Regions from separate parts of the Homo sapiens genome. Here region 1 is linked to region 2. The links are contacts of gene promoters, found by promoter capture Hi-C in blood cells and fetal thymus (Javierre and others, 2016). All regions are on one chromosome and are shown on one strand. Each heading gives the region's core, a stretch centred on a gene start or on the middle of the fragment in contact. The rest is flanking DNA. Distances are from core to core; before and after follow the strand shown. Region 1 has its middle 9.5 kb from the start of ADGRE1. Region 2 holds the start of DENND1C (DENN domain containing 1C).

Region 1 (6,299 bases), core at 3,437-5,936, 400 kb after region 2:
TTGAGCTTGGGGAGGGGGGTCTCCGGGACGCCTGATAAACCACCCCTACCTTTAAAGAAAGAGCCTTAGGAGCCATAGATAAACCATGAAGTCTTTGGAGGACAATGAAGTCTTTGCATCCACCTCCCTCTTAGAAACCCTGATTCTTTTCTCCTGCAAAAGGGCAGCTGCTGTTCATTTCTCACCCCCTCAAGAATTGTGGTCTTCCTTCTGGGGAAGCGGGGTAGGGATGCAAAGTTCAGTAGATTCATCTATTTCTCTTCCCTTCTTTTTCCTCATTTGTTTCTTTATTTTCTAGGATACAACAGCCAATGAAATTCTTTCCCTGCCCTGAGAAAATGCTCAGTTTTTTGAGGGAAACAGACATTCAAGCAAGCATAGATAATACTGACTATGGTGATGGGGGGGGAGGATGGAGGAGGCGCCTCACTCTCAAGTGGAAGTCAAGGAAGGCTTCCTGGAGGAGGTGATATTTACACAGAAAGGTTGTATAGGATTGGGGTGAATGTGCATTTCAGACTTGGTGTCAAGAGAGAACTGGGTTTGGTGGCACATGCCTGTAATCCCAGCACTTTGGGAGGCTGAGGCAGGAGGATCGTTTGAGCCCAGGAGTTTGAGACCAGCCTGGGCAATAAAGCAAGATCTCATCTCTAAAAGAGAAAAAAAAAAATTAGCAGGGTATGGTAGGGTATGCTTGTGGTCTCAGCTATTTAGGAGGCTGAGGTGGGAGGATTGCTTGAATTCAGGCAGTTGAGGCTGCAGTGAGCTGTGACTGAGCCGTTGCACTCCAGCCTGGGCAACAGAGCAAGTCCCTGTCTCAAAAAAAAGAAAAGAAAAAGAGAGAGAGTTTGAAGTAGAACTTGCTGTGAGGTTTCTTGTGCACAGGTGTTTTTGAGGGAGAAGATCAGGACAGAGCAAGGGAATGAGCTAAGCAAGGAAGTGGTCTTAGCTGGAGTCCAGCCTTAGCCGGATCCCATGGGGAGCCCTGGAGTGTGACTGGTGCCACCAGGTTGGTCTCACCCTGGGGGCATGGGGCTGGCCTTCTGCACCTCTGTGACCATCCGTTATGGCTGTGGGCTGGGTCTGAGGGTTTGCACAGTTGCTCAGCTGAGGAGAAGGGGGAAGCTGTGAGCTATGAGCTATTGTAGGCAGCACTCACTCACAGCAGCCCCAGGATGGGTGCACCAGCCTGGGAAAGGTCAGTGAGCAGAGCGTTGACTGCACCCACAACAGGGACTTCAAGTATTTTATAATCACTGGGGGGCTTTTTGTTGTTGTTTTTTTGAGACAGGGTCTCACTCTGTTGCCCAGGCTGGAGTGTACTGGTGCCATCACGGCTCACTGTGACCTTGACCTCCTGGGCTCAAGCAATCCTCCCGAGTAGCTGGGACTACAGGCATACACCACTAGGCCTGGCTTATTAAAAATTTTCTTTTATAGAGATGGGGTTTCTCCATGTTGCTCAAGCTGGCCTTGAACTCCTGGGCTCAAACAGTCCTCCCACCTTGGCCTCCTGAGTAGCTGGGACCACAGGTGTGCACCAGCCACTATGCCCAACTAATTAAAAAAAAATTTTTTTCTGTAGATTCAGGATCTCAGTATGTTGCCTTGAACTCCTGGGCTCAAGCGATCCTCCTGCCTTGATTTCCCAAAGTGGTGGGATTACAGGCATGAGCCACTGTGTCTAGCTGATCACTAGGGCTTTAGGGGGAGTGGAGATCAATAAAACAAGATGGGGAGACCAGAGTCAGACTACGTAGAGCCTTGAGTGCCATATTAATAAGCCTGAACTTCATCCTGAGGGCAATAGGGAGCCATGGAAGGGTTTAGAGTCTAAGCAGGGCGTGGACAGGTTAGGCAGGGATTCCCCAACTTCCCTGCCCCTTCCCGGCACTCTGTGTGACGGTAAGTGATGTTCCTGCAGCTCCCCAGGCTGATTTCTTCAATCTTGAGAGTCCCTTGTATTCCCCTTTGCTAGGGAAGTCATTAGGGGTTAGATTTTGTAAGCTTCTTGGCCAGAATTGTTGATTTCCTCTTCCACATCTTTCCCCTTCCTGTTCTTACACCCCCACCCGCAACTCTGCAGGGCCGCTGCAGGACAGTCTTTATATAGCTTCGGTCACCTCTGTGGGTTTGAAGGGTGTCTGGAGTCTTGGGTTTTCAGTGTCTCACTAGGACCCGATACCCTGCCTGTGGTAGGTGGGATAAAGGGCCTCCTCTCCCTCCACGAGGCACCTACAGCCTAATCCCTAAAGCCCAAGGATGTGTTCCCTTCTATGACAAAAGGGACTTTTGCAGATGGGATTCAGTTAAGGGCTATTTTTTTGGGGGGGAGGTGGGGGGAGTGGGGACAGAGTCTTACTCTGCTGCCCAGGCTGGAGTGCAATGGCACGATCTCAGCTCACTGCAACCTCTGCCTAATGTCATTACAAGAATTCTTACGAGAAGGAGACAGGAGGATCAGGGAGAGAGAGAGAGATGGAGAGATAGAGATACACAGAGAGTGAGAGAGAGAGAAAGAATGAGAGAGAACGAGAGAGAGAGAGAGAGAACAAGAGCAATAAGGAGAGTGAACAAGACAGACAGAATGGGCCAGGCGCAGTGGCTCGCGCCTGTAATTCCAGCACTTTGGGAGGCCGAGGCGGGCGGATCACTTGAGGTCAGGAGATTAAGGCCAGTCTAGTCAATATGGTGAAACCCCATCTCTACTAAAAATACAAAAGTTAGCCAGGTATGGTGGCAGATGCCTGTAATCCCAGCTACTCGGGAGGCTGAAGCAGGAGAATCGCTTGAACCCGAGAGACGGAGGTTGCAGTGAGCCGAGATCGTACCACTGCACTCCAGCCTGGGTGACAGACTGAGACTCTGTCTCAAAAAAAAAGGAGAAAAAAAAAAGAGAGAATGAAAGAGCAAGAGGGAGGGAAAAATGAGAGAATAAGCAAGAGAGAGAACTTGAGAGAGAGACAGACAGAGAAAAAGAGAGAGAATGAGAGAGCAAGAGAGAGGGAAAATGAGAGAGAGAGAGAGAGCAAGAACGAGAGATTTAGAGTACGCAAGAGACATTTGAAACTGCTAGCTGCTGGCTTTGCATAGGAAGGAAGGGACCATGAGCCAGGGCATGTGGGTTGCCTCCAGAAGCCAGAAAGGACAAGGAATGGATTCTGCCCTGGAGCCTCGGGAAGGATTGCAGCCCTGCTGGCATCTTGGTTTTAGTCCCATGAGACTCGAGAGGACTCTGACCTCTGGACCCATCATATACTAAATCTGTGTTTTCCCCAAGCTGCCAGGTCCGTGGCAAGCCTCATCCCATCCCCATCCCCAGAAGGGATCTGGGTTTGATTGCAAAACCTTCCAACTCTTTAGCCCAGCCTCCAAATGTCGAATCCTTCTTCTGTCTCAAACTCCCCTGCTACATCTAGACAGTCCCCAAATTCGGTTGTTCCTGCCTCCTAAATTCTCCGTCACTATAGCCCCTGCCCCAGACCAGGCCACTGTTCTCTTCTCTCTCCTGGCTGTATCCCCAGCCTCCTCCCTATCTGCCCACCTGTGAACCCATCCTGTCCAATACCCACCTACAAAACACAAACATAAAATTCCAACCTGAGCCTGTGGCTCCTTTGCTGAACCTCCTTTTATTGCCCCGAGGGTAAAGCCTAAACTCTTTCACCCACCTTATAAGGTTCTGTCTGATATGAAATTTGCTGGCTTCTCCAATTCAAATTTTGCTGGTATCAGGATTTTTTCTATGAGTAGCTGCAACTATTTAGCATGGTGGAATAATAATAATACCAATAATAACTAATAGTATTTAAGCATTTAATCTGTGCCAGGCACAGTTTTATTATTGTATCACCTTAACCCTCAAACTCCATGAAGTTAGACCCTTTATTTATTTATTTATTTATTTATTTTTGAGACAGAGTCTCGCTCTGTCACCCAGGCTGGAGTGCAGTGGTGTCATCTTGGCTCACTGCAACCTCCGCCTCCCAGATTCAAGTGAGTCTCCTGCCTCAGCCTCCCGGGTAACTGGAACTACAGGCGTGTGCCCCCATGCCTGCATAGTTTTTTGTATTTTTAGTAGAGACGGGGTTTTACCATGTTAGCCGGGCTGGTCTCAATCTCCTGACCTCATGATCCACCCGCCTTGGCCTCCCAAAGTACTGGGATTACAGGCATGAGCCACCACACCTGGCCCTAGTTAGACACATTATTACCCTCATTTTATTAATGGTGAAAACTGCTTCTTAGGTGTATTGGTTATCTCTTGCTGTGTATCAAATTACTCCAAAACTTAGCAGCTTAAAATAGGGAACTTTTAGTCTCTTACAGTTTCTGAGGATCAGGAGTCTGGGGGTGGCTGAGCTGAATAATTCTGGCTCAAGCTCTTGCTTGAGGTTATAGTCAAGCCATTGACCAGGGCTGGCTCATCTGAAAGTTCGACTGGGGTGGGAAGATTTGCTTCCAAGGCAGCTCACTCACATGACTGTTGGTGGGAGGCTCAGTTCCTCCACAGCACTGCTTGAATCTCCTTACAACATGGCGACTGGCTACTCCCCAGTGCATGACCCTGGAAAGAGAGAGCAACGAGGATGCCACAATGGCACGTATGACCTAGTCACAAACTGTCATGTGCTCCTTTTTCTGATCAATAGAAACAAGTCACACTGGGCATAGTGTCTCATACGTGTAATCCCAGCACTTTGGGAGGCTGAGGCAGGAAGACCACTTGGGCCCAGAGTTCAAGACCAGCCTGGGCAACATAGCAAGATCCTATCTCTGCAAACAAACAAAAAGTCAGCTGGGTGTGGTGGCACATGCTTGTCATCCCAGCTACTTGGGAGGCTCATGTAGGAGGATCACTTGAGCCCAGGACTTGGAGGCTGCAATGAGCTATGATCATGCCACTGTACTCCAGCCTGGGCAACAGAGCAAAATTCTGTCTTAAAAAAAAAAGAGAGAGAGAGAGAGAGAGAGAAACAAGTCACTAAGTCTATGTTCAAGGAGAGAGGGATTAGTCTCTACCACCTGAAGAGTATGAAAGAACTGATGGATATGTTAAAACCACCACATTGGTCTTCCTGCCTCTAGAGTCCACACTCCTGGATACACTGAACAAGGATTATAGGAGAAAGTGCAAGCCTCTGGCAGTCACTTCTAGTAGATAACATTACCTGAAAGGGAATTATGGGGGGAGGAGGAGAGCGAGGACCAATATCACCAGGGGATGGGAGGTGGGAGGGGAGAGCTACATCTGTGGTCTCTGCAGAGCAGACACTTTTCCAGGGAAACCCTTTTCTTTCTAATCTTTGTGAGTCCCCCAGTGGATATTTGTGTATCTGAGACCTATGAGATACTCGTCCTATGAGACCTCATAGGACGCTGAGACCCCACATTCAGCATTCTATGATCAGGAGCATATGGAGAAGATGTGGGTGCAGAGACATTGCTCAAAGAATACAAAGTTTCAGTTGAACAAGAGGAATATGTTCGAGAGATCTATTGTACAACATGGTGACTGTAGTTAATAACAATGAACAATGTAGCATATCCTTGAAAATTGCTAAGAGGGTAGATGTAACTATTCTTACCACAAAAAAATGACGTGCATGCAAAGGAACAGATAGGTTTATTGCCTCGATTTAGCCATTCCACCACATATACGTATCTCAGAACACCATGTTGTACACCATAAATATATACAATTTAATTTGTCAATTCAAAAAAGAATTTTTTTTTTTTTTTTGACAGAGTCTTGCTCTGTCGCCCAGGCTGGAGTGCAATGGTGCAGTCTAGGCTCACTGCAACCTCTGCCTCCCAGGTTCAAGCAATTCTCCTGCCTCAGCCTCCATGTACCTGAGATTACAGGCACCCACCAGCACACCCAGCTAATTTTTGTATTTTTAGTAGAGACGGGGTTTCACCATGTTGACCAAGCTGATCTCAAACCCCTGACTTCGTGATCCACCCGCCTCGGCCTCTGAAAGTGCTGGGATTACAGGTGTGAGCCACTGTGCCTGGCCCAAAAACGGAAAAGAAAAAAAGAGAGCACATAGACCTCACATATTAACTAGGGGAAATAAGAAGTCAAAATAAACCAAGGCTCAGAAGCCAACGAATTAGAGCTGGTGTTTCTCATAGGTCTCAGACACCCAAATATCCACCTGCAGGCTTTTTTTTTTCTTTTTTTTTGAGACAGGGTCTCACTCTGTCACCCAGGCTGGAGTGCAGTGGTACAATCTCAGCTCACTGCAACCTTCTCCTCCTCCCGGGTTTAAGCGATTCTCCTGCTTCAGCCTCCC
Region 2 (6,984 bases), core at 1,918-4,417:
AGGGCTCAAGGGATCCTCCCACCTCGGCCTCCCAAAATGCAGGGACTACAGGTGTGACACAGTGTGCCCTGCCAAGCCTGGGAGATCTGAGAGGGAGGGGTTGGGAGGTTGAGGGGGGTGGGGGCTGGGACTCCCACAGGAGTGAGAGAGGGGCTGGTCTCACTTGGTCCTGGGCTAGGAGGTCTCCCACTGTGTTCAATAGCTTGTAAAACACCTCGAACCAAGGCAGGTGGCTGTGGAGAGAGGAGACAGGTTCCACGAAGTGTCCCTAGGCCTCGGCCTTTCCCATCCCCCCCTCCAACCCCCATATCCCGCACCTGAGGATGCAGAGACAGCTCTGGGTACCCGCCCGCAGGCGGCAGAAACCAAATCTGCGGTTGCCGGCAAGGTCTGTGAGGGCGAAGGTGAAATGCTGCACGGCGGGGCTGGGGGGCTCCCTGGAGTGGGAAGGGCTGTTAGAGAGACCTGGACATCCCAGCTGTCTGAGGATGTCCCCGCTCCCCAACAAAGCTCCTAGGACCCTGAGTGTATGGGTCTCTAGTTGTCAGGATCCCTGAATGTCTGGATCCCTGGGTCTCAGAATCCCTGGGTCCCTGAATCTCTGGGTCCCTGGATCTCTGGGTCCCTGAGTCCCTGGGTCCCTGGATCTCTGGGTTTCTGGATCTCTGGGTCCTTGAATCCCTAAGTCCCTGGGTTCCTCAGTCCCTGAGTCCCTGAGTCCCTGAGTCCCTGGTCCCTGAGTTTCTGAGTCTCTGGGTTCCGAAGTCCCTGAATCCTTGTGTCCCTGAGTCCTTGAGTCTCTGAGTCCCTGGGTCCCTGGGTCCCTGGGTTCCTGAGTCCCTAGATCTCTGGGTCCCTGAGTGTCTGAGTCCCTGGATGCTAATGTATATAGGTCCCTAGTTCTCAGGGCCCCTGAGTGTCTGAGTCTCTGAGTCTCAGGGTCCTCGAGTGTATGGGTTTCCAGATGTCTGAGTCTCTAGGTGTTGAGTCCTTGGGGCCCCTGAGAGATCTGAGTCCCTGAGTCCTTGGATCTCCCCGCCCTTCCGTACCTTTCCACATCAAAAGGGAAGCAGAATTTAGGCACCATCTGCATAGCTTCCTGGAGGTGAAGAAAAGCGCAGACTGCTTGGCCACTGAGGTCGGGCACCACCTCCCTGGGCTCCAGGTCCAAGAAACCAAGTCCCCTCCCCCTGGGAGACTGGCCCTCGCCCTGGGGGAGCAAGGAGCCAGCCTGAATACCTGGTCCCTGAAGTCTGGAGGGAACTGCCGCAGGATGGGGGGATCTGTAGAAGAGAGCACGCCTCTAAGTTCAGCGACCCAGGCCCACCCTCCCCTCCCACTCCCTCACTCCCAGGCTCCCAACTCACCCTCCTGCAGGGAGGCAGGGCAGGCCGCTTCGAAGAACCAATCAAACACAGCAGGGGAGCCCCCTCTGTGGGATGCAGAAGGGGTCCAGAGACTTGCTTCTATGCATGTGTGGTTGTGTCTGCCACTTTGCACACAAGTGTGGTTGTGTGTGCATGTGCCACAAGGTGCGTCGGCATGTGCATGACTCTGGGGGTTTGTGGCTGTGAGTGTGTGGTTGTGTGAGGCTGTGTGTGCAGCAGTGTTAATTGAACACACAAGTACAGGATGGAGTGAGAAAGTGTGACTGTGTGTGTGTGGCTGTGTATGATTGTGTGTGGCTGAGTGCATGGCTTTTGTGAGCAGGCAGTGTGTGTGTGATCCTGTCTGCTGTCTGCCTGAAAAGATGAGACTGTCTCCTATATCTGTGGCATGAGACTGCACAGATATGAAGGACAGCCCGTGCAGTCCCAAGCTAAGTGAATTACATCTCTCTCTCTCTATATATATATCCATCTATCTGTCTGTCTGTCTGTCTCTGTCTATCCATCCATCCATCCATCCACCCACCCACCCACCTATCCATCCACCCACCCACCTATCTATCTATCTATCTATCTATCTATCTATCTATCTATCTATCTATCTATCTATTTTTTTGAGATGGAGTTTTGCTTTGTCACCCAGGCTGGAGTACAGTGGCACGATCTTGGCTCACTGCAACCTCCACCCCACAGGTTCAAGCGATTCTCCTGCCTCAGCCTCCCTGTAGCTGGGATTACAGGTGCCCGCCACCACGCCCAGCTAATTTTCATATTTTTAGTAGAGACAGGGTTTCACATACTGGCCAGGCTGTTCTCAAACTCCTGACCTCAGGTGATCTGCCCGCCTCAGCCTCCCAAATTGCTGGGATTACAGGCTTGAGTCACTGCATCTAGCCATGCCATCTATATTTTCTTGTATAGATGTGAGTGTGTGTGCCCGAGCAAGTGAATGACATCTATATTTTCCTGTACAGCTGTGAGTGTCACTGGGTAACCGCGTGGGATCCTTGTGGGCTGGCTGTGTGTCTCTGTGTGTGAGACCCCATAGAACCCTCGTGGCTGGTCCCACATGTCTCATCAGAGAAAGGAGGGCAGGATACCTAGGTACTTACTGTAAGCCCTGCAATCTCTGCTTTCCTCCTCTGCCCCCATATCAAGCAGAAGAGGCAGCCTTGGGCTCAAGGAGAGAGACAGGGAGATCTAGAGGGAGATCAGCTGCACACACACTGTCCCGCCCAGTTGCACACACAGTCCCCACCATGGGTACCCCAGCACTTCACCCTCACGCCGACACAAGTCACACACGATCACCCACTCATACCAACACCCAGCCTCCCCTCTGCCCTGATCATCCGCCCTGTGGACCCCCTGAAGCCATCACTCAGACATACCAAGGACAAAGCTCAGAGGGGTACATGCATTCACAGAGCTATAGACATAATCACAGGAGCTGGATAGAGAGAGAGAGAGAGAGAGAGAGGAGGGGACCGAGAGTGGCCTGTCCCAGAGTGAAGGTCATAGCGGAGGCCCATGGAGTATCTGATTCCAGCCACCTGCCCTGGCAGGTCACTGCACCTCCCGGGCCTGCTCCAGCCCCAGCTCCCCTCTGCCCCGGCTCAGGCCTGGCCCGGGAATCTTGTACCAGAGAATGAGGGATGGGGTGGCTCTTACTCAGCTCTGGATTCCATGGTCCCTGCAGGGCCAGCCCAGCGGGGCCCTCTCCCCAGGGGTCCTGGGGGCCTGTGTATGCTGGGCCCCAAGCCGGCTCAGCTTCCTGTGTGGCTGAGAGAGGAAGTTTAACGGGTGACGTCCCCGGACAGAGGCCCTGCCCCCACCCCCGTGAGAAACCCAGGCATCCTGCCTGCTAATTATGTTGGGGATGGGTGGGCAATAAGTGGTCAGCCTGGGAAGGCAGACCCCCAGCTCCGTCCCCGCCAGGCTGGACTGTGTCTGGTTCCCCCCATCGTGCCTGGGCCCTCATCTCTCCTTCCCCGCTCCGCAGCAGCCAAGATTCACAGTCTGTCTATTAATGAAATGCCTCCCCGTCTCTTTCCCTTGGTCCATTTGGCCTGGACGGTCACTGGTGGACCACCAGAGGGAGCCACCTGTAAAGTGGACGGTGGGGGGGCCAGGGATGGGGACAAAGAGCACGAAGTACAGGCACAGGGACGGACAGACAGACACAGACACAGACAGTTACACGCTCAGGAAGTCATCAGCACAGACAAACCGAGTGCAGAAGAGCCAGAGACGACAGACATGGAGAGATAGGGAGTCCTACAGCTGGATCATAGTCCCAGGCCGGGCACAGTGGCTCACGCCTATAATCCCAGCACTTTGAGAGGCCAAGGTGGGAGGACCGCTTGAGCCCAGGAGTTCGAGACCAGCCTGGGAAACATGGCGAAACCCTGTGTCTATAAAAGCTACAAAAATTATAGCTGGCGGTGGTGGCACGCACCTATAGTCCCAGCTTACCCAGGAGGCTGAGTCAGGAGGATCGCCTGAGCCTGGGGAGTTTGAGGCCATAGTGAACCAAGATTGCACTACTGTACTCCAGCCTGAGCAACAAAGTGAGATCCTGTCTCAAAAAAAAAAAAAAACAACTTAGTCACAGTTACACACCCATTGTGCGCAGAAAGACAAGGTAAGCGGATCACTTGAGGTCAGGAGTTTGCAACCAGCCTGGCCAACATGGTGAAACCCTGTCTCTAATTAAAAAAAAATACAGGCCAGGTGCGGTGGCTCACATCTGTAATCCCAGCACTTTGGGAGGCTGAGGCAGGTGGATCACGAGGTCAGGAGTTCGAGACCAGCCTGGCCAAGATGGTGAAACCCAGTCTCTACTAAAAATACAAAGATTAGCCAGGCACGGTGGTGGGCATCTGTAATCCCAGTTACTCAGGAGGCTGAGGCAGAATTATTTGAACCTGGGAGGCGGAGTTTGCAGTGAGCCGATATCGCGCCGCTGTACTCTAGCCTGGGCGACAGAGCAGGACTCTGTCTCAAAAAATCAAAAACAAACAAACAAACAAAAAATTAGCTGGGCATGGTGGCATGTGCCTGTAATCCCAGCTGCTTGGGAGGCTGAAGCAGGAGAATCACTTGAATCCGGGAGGCAGAGGTTGCAGTGAGCCGAGATCGTGCCACTGCACTCCAGCCTGGGTGAAAGAGTGAGACTCCATCTCAAAAACAAAAACAAAAACAAAGCAAACAAACAAACAAACAAATGCAGAGACAGACAGAGACACAATAAACAGTTACACAGAGACCACAGCCATTGATACAAACAGAATAACAGAGAAATAGACCCAGATAGATGGAAACACAGCACAGACATAGCTCAAGTAATAACCAGATATAGTTATAGCCAAGACCCGGCCACATGCAGAGAGAGACACAGCTGGACTCACATGACAGCCAGATACTCATGACAGCCCGACACACTCAAGCCGTGCTGCAGACTATGAAAGACACAGGGGCTGGAGGCAGTGGCTCAGTAATCCCAGCACCTTGGGAGGCTGAGGTAGGATTGTTTGAGGCCAGGAGTTAAAGATCAGCCTGAGCAATATAACAAGACCCCATCTTTACAAAAATTAAAACTTTAGCCAGGTGCAGTAGTCCCAGCTATTCTGTAGGCTGAGGCGGGAGGATCCCTTGAGCCCAGGTGGTGGGGGTTGTAGTGAGCTGTGATCGTGCCATTGCACTCCAGCCTGGGCAACGGTGTAAGACCCTATCTCCAAACAAACACAGGAACAAACAAAAACAACAAAAAAGACACAGGCACACAGGTGGACAGACGTAGTCATGTTGAGACAGGATATGTGAACATATCTGCAGGCACAAAAACAGAACATGATATAGTCAGGGTCACACCTACACATGAAATCCTGCCAACAGACTCAGACCACTGTGTGGTGTGAAAACACCTCGTGGCCGGGTGCGGTGGCTCACACCTGTAATCCCAGCACTTTGGGAGGCCGAGGTGGGCGGGTCACCTGAGGTCGGGAGTTTGAGACCAGCATGGGCAACTTGGAGAAACCCCGTCTCTACTAAAGATACAAAATTAGCCGGGTGTGGTGGTGACACATACTTGTAATCCTAGCTACTCAGGGGGCTGAGGCAGGAGAATTGCTTGAACATGGGAGGCGGAGGCTGTGGTGAGCCAAGATCGTGCCATTGCACTCCAGCCTGGGCATCAAGAGCAAAACTCCATCAAAAAAAAAAAAAAGAAGAAGAAGAAGAAGACACCTCGTACCCACAGTCACTGGACACATACAGAGTCAGAATCCCGTCAGCCACATCCTCACACAGTCTGATGGACATGTGCTATTGTCCGAATATGTGTCCCTCCAAAATTCGTATGTTGAAACCTAAAGCCCCAAGGCAGTAGTAAGAGGAGCCGAGATTGCGCCATTGCACTCCAGCCTGGGCAACAAGAGTGAAACTCCGTCTCAAAAAAAAAAAAAAAAAATAGGTGAGGCCTCTGGGAGGTGATGAGGTCAAGAGGTATCCACCCTCAACAGTGGGATTAATGCCTTTATAAAAGAGGCTTGAGGCCCAGTGCGGTGGCTCTGGCAGGGTGCAGTGGTTCACACCTGTAATCCTAGCACTCTGGGAGGCTGAGGGGGGTGGATTGCTTGAGGCAGAAGTTTGAGACCAGCCTGGGCAGCATGGTGAAACCCCGTCTCTACAAAAAATACAGAAATTAGCTGGGCATGGTGGTGTGCACCTGTAGTCCCAGCTACTTGGGAGGCTGAGTGGGAGGATTGTTTGAACCCAGGAGGCAGAGGTTGCAGTGAGTGAAGATTGCACCACTGCACTGCAGCATGGGCAGCAGAGAGAGACTCTGTCTCGGGAAAGTAAAAAATAAAAAAATAAAAATAAATAAATAAATAAATAAAAAGAGGTTTGAGCTAGGTGTGGTGATAGCGCCTGTAGTCCCGGCTACTTGGGAGGCTAAGGCGGGAGGATCACTTGAGCCCAGGAGTTCAAGCCTACAGTGAACTTTGATTGCACCACTGCATTCCAGCGAGTGACAGAGCAAGACTCTATGTTAAAAAAAAAAAAAATTAAGGCTGCTATGACAAAATATCTGCAACCTCTGCCTCCCAGGTTCAAGTGATTCTCCTGACTCAGCTTCCCAAGTAGCTGGGACTACAGATCTGTACCACCATGCGTGGCTATGTAGCTAGCTACTTGGGAGGCTGAGGCAGGAGAATCGCTTGAACCTGGGAGTTGTAGTGAGCCAAGATCGTGCTATTGTACTCCAGCCTGGGTGATAAGAGCGAAACTCCATCCCCCTACCCAAAAAAAAAGAGAGATGGGGTCACACTCTGTCACCCAGGCCGACGTGCAGTGGCGCCATCATAGCTCACTGTAGCCTTGACCTCCTGGGCTCAAGTGATCCTCCCACCTCAGCCCCCTGAGTAGCTGGGACTACAGTTGTGTGCTACTGTACACACAACTGTTTTTTTTTTTAAATTTAATTTAATTTTATTTTTGAGACAGGGTCTCACTCTGTCACCCAGGCTGGAGTGCAGTGGCACGATCTTCACTCATTGCAACCTCTGCCTCCTGGGTTCAAGCGATTCTCCTG

What was found. The method cuts DNA at HindIII sites, captures the fragments that hold promoters and counts their contacts. A CHiCAGO score of 5 or more calls a contact.
Region 1: a contact is called between a fragment that was not itself captured here and the fragment with the promoter of DENND1C in region 2, in 1 of 17 cell types (total CD4 T cells). The highest score is 5.4, in total CD4 T cells.

Annotation. Positions count from the first base shown.
Region 1 is chr19:6,874,941-6,881,239 of GRCh38, forward strand. No RefSeq gene overlaps it. Among named protein-coding and RNA genes, the nearest start is that of ADGRE1, 9.5 kb to the right of the region's middle. The HindIII fragment of the contact is 5,363 bases long and covers 2,006-6,299 here.
Region 2 is chr19:6,478,620-6,485,603 of GRCh38, forward strand. It overlaps DENND1C (DENN domain containing 1C), which reads right to left and starts at 3,168. Exons shown (of 23, transcript NM_024898.4): 1 at 3,060-3,168; 2 at 1,368-1,432; 3 at 1,240-1,283; 4 at 1,050-1,099; 5 at 318-437; 6 at 164-233. The coding sequence starts at 3,076. RefSeq lists enhancers at 1,263-1,762, 3,359-3,653. The HindIII fragment of the contact is 23,241 bases long and covers 1-6,984 here.